3 separate regions of the Homo sapiens genome follow, and all the other regions are linked to region 2. Evidence: promoter capture Hi-C in 16 types of primary human blood cells and fetal thymus (Javierre and others, 2016). All regions are on one chromosome and are shown on one strand. Each heading gives the region's core, a stretch centred on a gene start or on the middle of the fragment in contact. The rest is flanking DNA. Distances are from core to core; before and after follow the strand shown. Region 1 has its middle 40 kb from the start of CASD1. Region 2 holds the start of PON2 (paraoxonase 2). Region 3 holds the start of SGCE (sarcoglycan epsilon).

Region 1 (3,441 bases), core at 622-3,121, 960 kb after region 2:
CTACGATGTATTTACACATAGCTTCTTCATTTATCATGTTTGAGGGTCACCGAGCTTTTTCAAGCTTTATATTTATGCCTTTTACCCAATTTTGGAAAAATTTGGCTAATTTTTCAAATTTTTTTTGCCACATTCTTTCCTGTCATTCTGTGATTCCAATTATACATATGTTATGTCTTTTGATATTGTCTTAGAGTTCTCTGAGACTCTGCTCATTTTCTTCCAATCTTTTTAATTTTTTTGTCTATTCTTCAGATTGGACTATTTCTATTGTATTATCAAGTTCACTGACTAGTTGCTCTGTCATCTCTATTTTGCTGCTAAACCTATATAATGATTCTTTTTACAATTTCAGACATTTTATTTTTTAGTTTTAGAATTCGTTAGCTTATTTTAATAAATATTTCAAAATATTTCATATTTTATTTATCTTTACTGAGATTTCCTATTATTTTATTTATTGCTAACATATTTTTCCTTATTTCACTGACCATAGTTATAACAGCTACTTTAAAATCTTTGCCTACTAATTCCAACTTCTGTATCATCCAGGGTTGGTGTATATATTTACCAACATTAGTATAACAATATTCTATCTTTTCTGTCGAGAAAAGTAATACTTCCTGTTTTAAAAATATATTCAGTAATTTCTATACCCTGGGCACTGTCAGGGTTATATTGTGCATTCTTTTATAGTCTTCCAAAAGTTCTGATTTTTTTTTCAGATATTAAACTCGGGTGGACTCAAGCATCAAACGCTGTCTCTTGTGTGGCAGCTAAAATCACAGTTAATTGTTAAGAATCTTTATCTCGATTTTGTCTGGCAAGTGCATCATTTAGGAGTCAGCTAAAGTTAAAAAAACGTATATTGAGATATAATTTATAATTTTACATAGCATAAATTAACCAAATATAAGTGTACAATGTGATAAATTTTGGTAAATTTGTGTATTTGTGTAAAATTACCTCAATTCTGTTTTAGAACATTTCCATCACCCCCTAAAATTTATTTGTGCCCATTTGTTGTTAATTTCCACTCCCACCCATAGCCCTAGGCAACTGTGGATCTACTTCTGTGTGTATAAGTTTACCTTTTCTAGAAATTTTCTGTTAATAGAATGGTACACTATATAGCCATTTGTGTCGGTCTTCTTTCACTTAACATTTTTTTGAGGTTCATCTATGTTGTTGAATACATGAGCAGTCTACTCTTTTTCGTTGCTGAATAGTATTTTATTGTGTGCCTATACCTCATGTGTTCATCCATTCATCAGCTGATGGGCATTTGGATTACTACCAGTTTTGGGCTATTTTGAATAATGCTGTTATTAACATTTGCGTACATGTCTTTATGTAGATGTATGTTTTTATTATTTGCCTTATCTGCTTTTAAATCCAAGTATTAGATTCTTATTTCAGTTATCTTTTCAACTTCTACAATTTCCACTTTATTTTATTTAGTAGATTCCTTGTTTCTTATGAATTCTCCATTCTTTTCTCAATTTTCATGAACATATTAAACATTATTATTAGTTTATTATTGTTTGTAGAAACAAAGTCTCACTATGTTGCCCAGGCCAGTCTCAAACTCCTGGGCTCAAGCAATCCTTTTGCCTCAGTCTCCCAAAGCACTGGGATTACAGGCATGAGCCGCAACACCTGGCCATAATGTTATTTTGAGGTCTCTAATGATAGCTCCACTATTTGGGTCATCTTTACTTCCATTTCATTGTCAAATCTTTCCTAGTTTTTTGTTATATGTTCCAATTTCTTATCTTGCCTAACAATATTTGATGGAATACTAGAGATTCTGTATGAAAAATTATACAGGCCTTAGATGACGATATCTTTCCCCAAAGATAATTTAATTTCATTTTGGCAAGTAGATAGAGATATAACAGGTCACTTTTATCTAGTCAAGAGTGGATTCCAAGAGTGGATTCTATACTGTGATGGAACTGGTCTAGTTTTAATTTGCCTTTATTCCTTATTTTTTACTTCTAAGGTATAACCTTTTTATGGTCTCATGTGAAATCATGGGGGTGTTTCCTGGGTCCCCTCTACTTTTGTGAGCCCTGAATTATAATCTATATGCCCTTGGTACTACCATACTGCTAAAATCTTTGCTTAGCTCTTTGGCATACTGGTACTTTCTGCTAGATGTTTAGGAGTCTTGCTTTGTGTATATGCAGTTTTGGGGATGGCCACCCCTTGCAAGGAAATTGCATGCAGAATTTCACGCTTACTTTTATGTGTTTTCTTCCCCAAATTTTAACTCTATTACATGCCCTCACCCCCAAACTCTGTTTCTTCAGCCCAGTGAGAGTGTCGTAAGCCAGGTTTGTCTTTCTTTTTAATCTCTGTTTCTCTCAGATGCAAATTTGCAGATGTCTTGAAGGGAAATACAGGGCAGAATCTCACTTCAGTGTGTTTTCCTTCTCTCCCGGACTGCTGCTTCTCAAGTCCTGTCTGCTGGAAGTGCTCTTGAATGTTGTCAAACTATTGTTTCATGCATTTTATAGTTAACTTGGGCAAGAACTGCTCTGATATGAGCATTTCTGAAATAGCTGCAAGCAGAGTTTTCCCAATTATTTGGAAAAACATACAAGAAAATCCCTACTTTTTGCTGCAATATACTTCTGTAATATAATTCCGTCAAAGCAGTGAGTAATTTTTTTAATCAGATGCTTCTATGGTGCTTCAATTTAGAGTTTCATTTGTGACCAGAAGGCTTGACATCAAATAAATCCCAAGTTATAAATCAACTATAAAATTTACACAAGAATATAATAATTTAAAATTGTAAATGCAGGCTAGATTTCTTTGTGCAGCATAGAAAGGACCTCAACATATGTGATGTGTAATGTATTAAAGAAAAAATTTTATTGTACTAATATTGTGCTCCATTGTTAATATATCAGCTACTATTGGCATTTAGTTTATTATATTTTTATCTTAGAATGTAAAAAAAAATTAAGGAATGACAATTTGAGTGGCCCAGTTCTTTTTAAAAGGTCTCTAATACAGTTAAATTACTTGCTACATTTTATCTAAATAAGACCTTTATTGAGAATTGAATTATTTTATTAATCTTACTTCTAACCAAAAATATTATAGCACATAAAATATTTATTGATATTGCTGTTGATGACTATCAAGATGCTGCTTCTGCTAAACATTATTTTAAAAGTAATGATTGGCTGGGCACAGTGGCTCACATCTGTAGTCCCAGGATTTTGGGAGGCCGAGACAGGTGGATTGCTCTAGCTCAGGAGTTTGAGACCAGCCTGGACAACAAGGTGAAACCTCATGTCTACCAGAAATACAAAAAATTAGCCAGTGTGTGCCTGTGATTCCAGCTATTCAGGAGGATGAGGTGGGAGGATCACTTGAGCCAGGGAGGCAGAGGTTGCAGTGAGCTGAGATCACACCGCTATACTC
Region 2 (3,123 bases), core at 380-2,879:
TCATAAATTCCAGGAATATGAAGATAATGGGTGGGACAGCTACTCGGGAACAAAATGTCTTTAAACAACTGTCCCCAGGCATGGGTATTGGGGCGTGACTGAAGTCCCATACTCATGTCGCTCTGGGCCTGATAAATTTTGCATACCTCACAAAGCTCAGACTGCTCTCAGCTATTTTTTTTCCTTACAATGTAATTGATTTTCTTTGCAATCTATACATTTTATTCATTTATTTAAAATTTTTTTTTCTTCTTTCTTTTTTTCATGAACCGCACAGAGAAAATTTATGCATTTTATTGTAAGCATTTATAAACATTATTCTAAGAAGTTATCCACAGGCTCACCACTGCCAGAAGGGTCCACGACACAAAAAAGGTAATGCCTCATGGGCTTTCAAAGGACAACTTTTTACTTCTCTTTCTACCATCCAGTATAATCCAATATCCTTAGGACTGAAGCAGAGATACACACACACACAGGGAGAGAGGTGTTTGTGCTTTTTTTTTTTTTTTTTTTTTTTGGTGAGAGGCAGGTGGGAAATTGGCATCCACTTTTATTTACTGGTTCTTTATAAAACTGATATTTGTTGAAAATTGTCAAGTGTGACCATTTCTGCCTACATATTGTAGGGTGGCAATTAAATACCGAAAACCATTAGAAGCTTATTTCAGATGTACTCATTTATTGTAATGGTATCAATCTTGATGGGTAAATTTCATTTTACTTTTAAAATTGTATTTTAAATTATTCCTTCATGTTACGGTTGTTAGAGTAAAAACGGAAAAGAAAAAAACTACACTTCTTCCCTTTGAGTTTGGATGAAAAAGACGTGTCTAAGTCCTTAAGTCTGTAGTCTGGAAGTATTAATAGAGGCTGGGCATGGTGGCTCATTCCTGTAATTCTAGCACTTTGGGAGGCTGAGGCAGGAGGATGGCTTGAGTCCAGGAGTTTGAGACCAACCTGGGCAACACAGCAAGACTCGGTCTCCACACACACACACACAGACACACACACAACTTACACACACTTAGCTAGGTGTAACGGTACGTGCCTGCGGTCCCAGCTACTCAGGAGGCTGAGGCTGGAGGGTCCCTTGAGTCCGGGAGGTCCAGACTGCAGTGAGCTATGATTGTGCCAATGTACTCCAGCCTAGGCAACACAGCGAGACCCTGTTAAAAAAAAAAAAAAAAAGTATTACGAGGCACAGGATGTTTATTTATTCGCAACTACGTCCTGTTATAAAAAGTAGTGATTCCAACGTGAAATATTTACACGACGCATCCCGTTACTTTCCCTCCCTTGGCCACCGACCCCCATCCCCAAAAGCTGCTTTCTATGTAAGTTTCTCACTGGAATAGCGAGTGAGAAATGTGTTTGAAGACTAGGGAAACGAGAAAGGTATGCGGGCTGCTAGAGGGTTTCGGGTGGGTTGTTTGAAAAAGGAAGTGAAGGAATTCAAAGTTTCACATCATGAGCCTAATGTAAGGCGTGTCCGGGCCGTCCCGAAGGTATCTGGGGAAATAGGTTTGTGAGGACAAAGACCAGGGCCAGGCCCAGGGCGGAGCCTCCGCGGCCCCGACGCAGGGACTCGGCCTAGGCGGAGGACGGGGCGGAGCGCGGCCGGCACCATCGAGCCGGGAAGATGGCACCGCCCACGGAGCTGCTGGCCAGGCCGGAGCGAGGCAGCGCGCCCGGCTCCCGCGCCATGGGGCGGCTGGTGGCTGTGGGCTTGCTGGGGATCGCGCTGGCGCTCCTGGGCGAGAGGCTTCTGGCACTCAGGTAGGTGGGACTCCCGCGCGCCCCTCCTCGGCGGTCCCCAGGCTCGGGGTGGCCGCGTGGTGCGGGGAGGGCGCAGGCTGGGGGAGGGATTCCTGCGGGACCTGGCCCTGCGGCCGGGGGTGGAGAATTTTTGAATGCTGTCCCTCCCCCAGCTAGTTGAACCCCCATCACCCCGACTCTCCGCTTCTAGTGAAAAAACTAGCAAAGTTTGGAGTGAATCGCGACACTTTCTTGAAAGTTTATAAGCCCTTGCTGCTAACAAAGTTCTCTTCTGCTTAGGCTGACAAGAGAATGCTTTGCAATTACCCAAGGGCCAAACTAGTGGTTTAAATTGAAAACAAAATGACTACTCATGCATTGAAACCTTAACTATGAAGATTTATTTCAGGTCATTGGTGCTGTTTCTCCTTGTTGCCCAAACCAGACCCGTCTTTAATAAAGTTGTTCTCCACCCATTTCTGCATAGTTTGAGAAACTCTTCAGCTGTAGATCAAAGACACTTGAAATATTCAGCTACTGTTCTTACTTCCTATTTATTCACCAGGGAAGCCTGAAGCCAGAATGCCAGACAGCGCAGACACTATTCCATCTCGCATTTTAGTTTTAATGAAAATCTCTGGTAGGTAGACATCATCGTTTATAAATTACCAACTCAACGTTTGTTTTTTGTTTATTTTATTTTTTGTAGAGATGGGGTCTTGCTGTATTGCCCAGGCTGTTCCCTAACTCTTGCACTCAAGCAATCCTCCAGCCTAGGCCTCCCCACAGTGCTGGGATTACAGGTGTGAGCTGTTCTGCCCTGCCTCAACCAAAATTTTATAGGCCTCATGCAAAAGAGTTCCAGAAAGACTGAGCACCTGCTATGTGTAATGTTCTCTCTTAGGCTTCTATAGTAGAGTACGACCCTTATGGAGTTTGATACAGGGGAAGAGAGAATTAAAATACAGTAAATGTATAAATTAGGATGTTCTAAGGACAGACACAAATGAACCGCATAGGCTTAAAGAGGAAAGATTCCATCCCCTGAGGGTGGAGTTCTAGAGGGAGGAAGAGACATTCGACCTGACCTTGAAGGGTGGGTGCAACACATATGAGCATGAAGGGGCCCATGCCAAATGTATAGTGCAGCAGGAGCAAAGGGGCTAAGGTGGGAAGTTGGAAGACTAGCAAATGGGCCAATTTGAAGGGAGCATAAAGTCAGGAGATGAGAATAGTAGGGTGGTGGGAAGGATAGGTTTTGAGGCCATTAAATATAAGTTGAAAAATGGGGCCCCACTTTCATAGGCCCAATAGTGCTTCAAAAGGGAAATATTGGTGGGTTTTGCTTTTCAACAAGAACTTAAT
Region 3 (3,465 bases), core at 78-2,577, 780 kb after region 2:
CACCATCATGCGAGAACCGTCCTGCAGAAAAATAGAGTGGGAGCCATTCCAAAAGGTGAAAGGGTGGGGTCCTGCTCCAAGAAAACAGAGGAATTGTACTCCGCAGCTCATGTCCCACTACGGCTGCTTTATTTGTAGCGCAAACGGTCTGCAGCTCCTGTACCTCTGCAGCTCTTACCACTTTGTAGTGCATCTTAGGTGTGAATTGTTCCGCAGCTCATGTACCTCTGCAGTTCATGTGCCTCGCAGCGCAATGAAGCGCTGTTGTCGGGCTGGCTAATCGCATCGTTTTTGTAGCGTTTTTTGTAGTGCTACTCTTCTGCAGCTCAGATTTTGCAGCGCATGTAAAGCGCAATTCAGTTTTCTGTCTGCAGCTCCTATATCGCTGCTCCTCGTTCTGGATTGTAGCGCCACTGAAGCGCCCATCCGTCAGTTTGTGGCACATAAAGCGCCCATCAGTTTATAGCGCAATGAAGCGCCAGTTGTAGCTCCCATCAGTTTGTCGCCCGCGTGAAGCGTGCTTGTAGCGCATCTGAAGCGCCAGTTTGTAGCGCATTTGAAGCGCTTATCTGTTTGTAAAGCATGGCACTTGGTAGCGCATTTGAAGAGCAAATTGCAAATCGATCTATAGCTCCTGACCGTCTGCAGCTCATCACTGTCCGCAGCTCATCTCTGTCTACAGCCCGTATCTGGACTTGGTCCTGGAAACCCAAGCCTTTAAGGCTTGGTTTCCCCATTTGTTTTGGGGTACAGCCAGTGAAGGCGTGACAAGTTTTGCGTGGAGACATTCTGGGGTGCTACTCCATCTCCCGCAGCTCCCGATAAGCACGGGGAATGAACGTGATCTTTAAAAAAAAAACGTCCTCACCGCATACTCACCACGCGAGGACTCCTCTGCGAAGACAGGAAGGATGGGGTCCCACACCTGAGCCAGGCGCGGTCTCCACTGGGTGCTCCGCAGCCCGGAGTGGCTCCGGACGACAGCCCGCTCAGCGGACCTTTCGCCAGGCTCGGTGGACCTTCTCCGCTGTTCTCCTCAGGGCGCAGTCAGGTTTCTTCGACACACACCAACCGAAGTTGAAGCGCGTGTACCAGGAGCGCAGACTGTGAGCCTTATATAGGTTGCACCGAGGAGGGGGGCGCCAAATCCCAGCGTGCTCCGCGGGCTAGGGGGTGGAGGGGGGTGCGGGGATGGGGGATGGGGGTGGGGGCGGTGGCCACGCTGCAGTGGCCCGCCGCTAGAGGGAGTACGGGATTACCGAGGGGGTGCGGGATGCTGATGCTGAACTGGCCAAGCTGGGAGGGAAGAAGAAAGGGAGGGGAGGGGAGAATCGAGGACGGACGGCCTAGCCAGGCCAAGAATGCAATTGCCCCGGTGGTGGGAGCTGGGAGACCCCTGTGCTTGGACGGGACAGGGTCGGGGGACACGCAGGATGAGCCCCGCGACCACTGGCACATTCTTGCTGACAGGTTAGTGGCCTGCGCGCGACGTGGAGGTCCCGGGGCCAACAGGCCGCCGCCTCCCCCTCCCCCGCTCGGGTTCCGGGCGCCTGAGCGCGCCCTTTGGGCACCAGCCTCTCTTTCTGTCCCGGACCCCACCGTACCCCTCCTTCAGTACACCCTGTACCCCATTTCCCCGGCCCAGCTTCTCTCTCCCCAGGCTTGACCCCTGGCCTTTTTTTCCTCTCCGCGCCCCCGCGGGCCCCTCCCTGCTCTGCGGGCGCAGAAATTCCATCTCCAATTCCTGTTCCCAACATCCCCCTCCCCGCCCAGCCCCAGGGTAGTCCTCTCCCGATCCCTGTAGCAAAGAGCTGGGGGTCGTTGCCTGTTTTTCTGGGGGGCCCGTTTCCCCGCGATTGGGCTCTGCGACCGCGATGCGAGCCAAAGGAAATGGGTGTCAAGCTGCGTCCCCGCTACACAAACACATCTTTTTTCCTTTTCTTGATAGTGGTAGAGAACACAAAAATGTGACATTTAAAACACCGAATTTCCCCCTCTTGCTAAGTGCATTTCTCGGTGACGGAAATCTCGGTTTTCTTCGGTTTTACGGAGCAGGGAAGCGGAATCATGAAATGCTGGGAGCTAAACAGGGCGTTCAGGTCAGGGTTAACCCCGGCTGGAGGCCAGAGATGCTGCCGTACCGAGTGCGCTATTTCCAGAAACCAAAACCAATTTAAAACAGCTGTGGATGCTTCCAGTGTGTTTGGCGGGCTTTGAAGGCTCCCAGCTACCGACTTTTGGTGGCGATTACGAGGTTTACACAGAGACCTTGCTTCCCTTGCAACGTTACATTTTCCTAAATCTTGTAGGGTGAATGAATGCGTTTAGTCACGGCAACCGCACGTTTAATCCTTTCCAGCGGGTTGCCGAGATTCGGCCACAAATATTTGCGTGCATTTGTACTATGAACATATATATTTTATGTCAGGGAAAATTGCAGTGGCTGATAAGACGCTAAAATTCTGATGAGGAAGGATGCTAAATAAAACCTTAACGCGGATTCCCATCTAAGCGCCTCAGTGTCAGGTGCTTGGGAAACTGACAATCTGTTGATGATCTTAGTAAAACAAGTTTAAGTTAAAAGGGAAAACCAAATTGTCTACAGCTGAGTTAGGTTTCTGAAACACAGATGAAACGCTTTCATATTTGAAGAGCAAAATTGAGCACATTTTAGTAACATTGCTACGGATTATTTTATACTTGGAATATCAATAAGAATTTGACTTATTGTCATAACAACGTTGCAGACACCGCACTTTAAAAGAGAGCCTTTCTAGGAATAAACAAAACTGTAGCCCATTTACTGAGATTTTACTTTTTATTAGAAAATGCCCACTATCCGGAATATGAATGAATGAAATGCAGCTTTTTAACAAAGACATTTCCCTAGGAAGTTGGGTAAACACAATTATACTTTTTAGAAGTGCCTTTTAATTTAATCTTTAGGATGTTCACCCTCTTCTGCAAGATAGAATAATTCCAGGATTTCTTATGCTTGGTAGAGTACTGTTCTGGTGACCGCTGTCAAATTCTTACCAGTTTTGTTTGTTTGTTTAAATTCGAAAGTTACTTCACCTAGTTAACTGAGACATTATTTTTCTAAAAATTGAGATTTAAAACCAGTATAGATGAAAAGCAGGAAAAATTAAAGTTCAAAAATCCATCTTAAGACTTTAAAAGTTTGAACAAGTTTGAACCAATTTGATTTTTTCATTTCAAAATGCTAACCAGGACTTTTTTTAAAAAACGTAATTAGTATTTTACCATAATAAAAGTAATTTCAGGTCATTGTACAAAATTCAGGAGAGAAAACCCTAGAAAACTCTAAAGAAAAGGTCACCTGTAACCTATTCACCCTGCAATAACACCAGTAAACATTATAGAGTCTGCTTTTTCAGACGTTCTCTATGCATATATAGGTAGCTATACAATAAATATTTTTCATAGGATTGCAGTTAAATACTT

Evidence for each region. The method cuts DNA at HindIII sites, captures the fragments that hold promoters and counts their contacts. A CHiCAGO score of 5 or more calls a contact.
Region 1: a contact is called between a fragment that was not itself captured here and the fragment with the promoter of PON2 in region 2, in 2 of 17 cell types (M0 macrophages and total CD4 T cells). The highest score is 5.8, in M0 macrophages.
Region 3: the fragment with the promoter of SGCE here is called in contact with the fragment with the promoter of PON2 in region 2 in 1 of 17 cell types (naive B cells); the score reaches 7.7 in naive B cells.

The regions. Positions count from the first base shown.
Region 1 is chr7:94,468,543-94,471,983 of GRCh38, reverse strand. No RefSeq gene overlaps it. Among named protein-coding and RNA genes, the nearest start is that of CASD1, 40 kb to the left of the region's middle. The HindIII fragment of the contact is 3,609 bases long and covers 67-3,441 here.
Region 2 is chr7:95,433,534-95,436,656 of GRCh38, reverse strand. PON2 (paraoxonase 2) reads left to right here and starts at 1,629. Exons shown (of 9, transcript NM_000305.3): 1 at 1,629-1,779. The coding sequence starts at 1,706. RefSeq lists an enhancer at 1,272-1,842 and a silencer at 1,517-1,946. The HindIII fragment of the contact is 3,363 bases long and covers 664-3,123 here.
Region 3 is chr7:94,653,995-94,657,459 of GRCh38, reverse strand. SGCE (sarcoglycan epsilon) reads left to right here and starts at 1,327. Exons shown (of 11, transcript NM_003919.3): 1 at 1,327-1,470. The coding sequence starts at 1,362. PEG10 (paternally expressed 10) reads right to left here and starts at 1,135. Exons shown (of 2, transcript NM_001172437.2): 1 at 869-1,135. The coding sequence starts at 873. RefSeq lists an enhancer at 1,202-1,979. The HindIII fragment of the contact is 19,954 bases long and covers 1-3,465 here.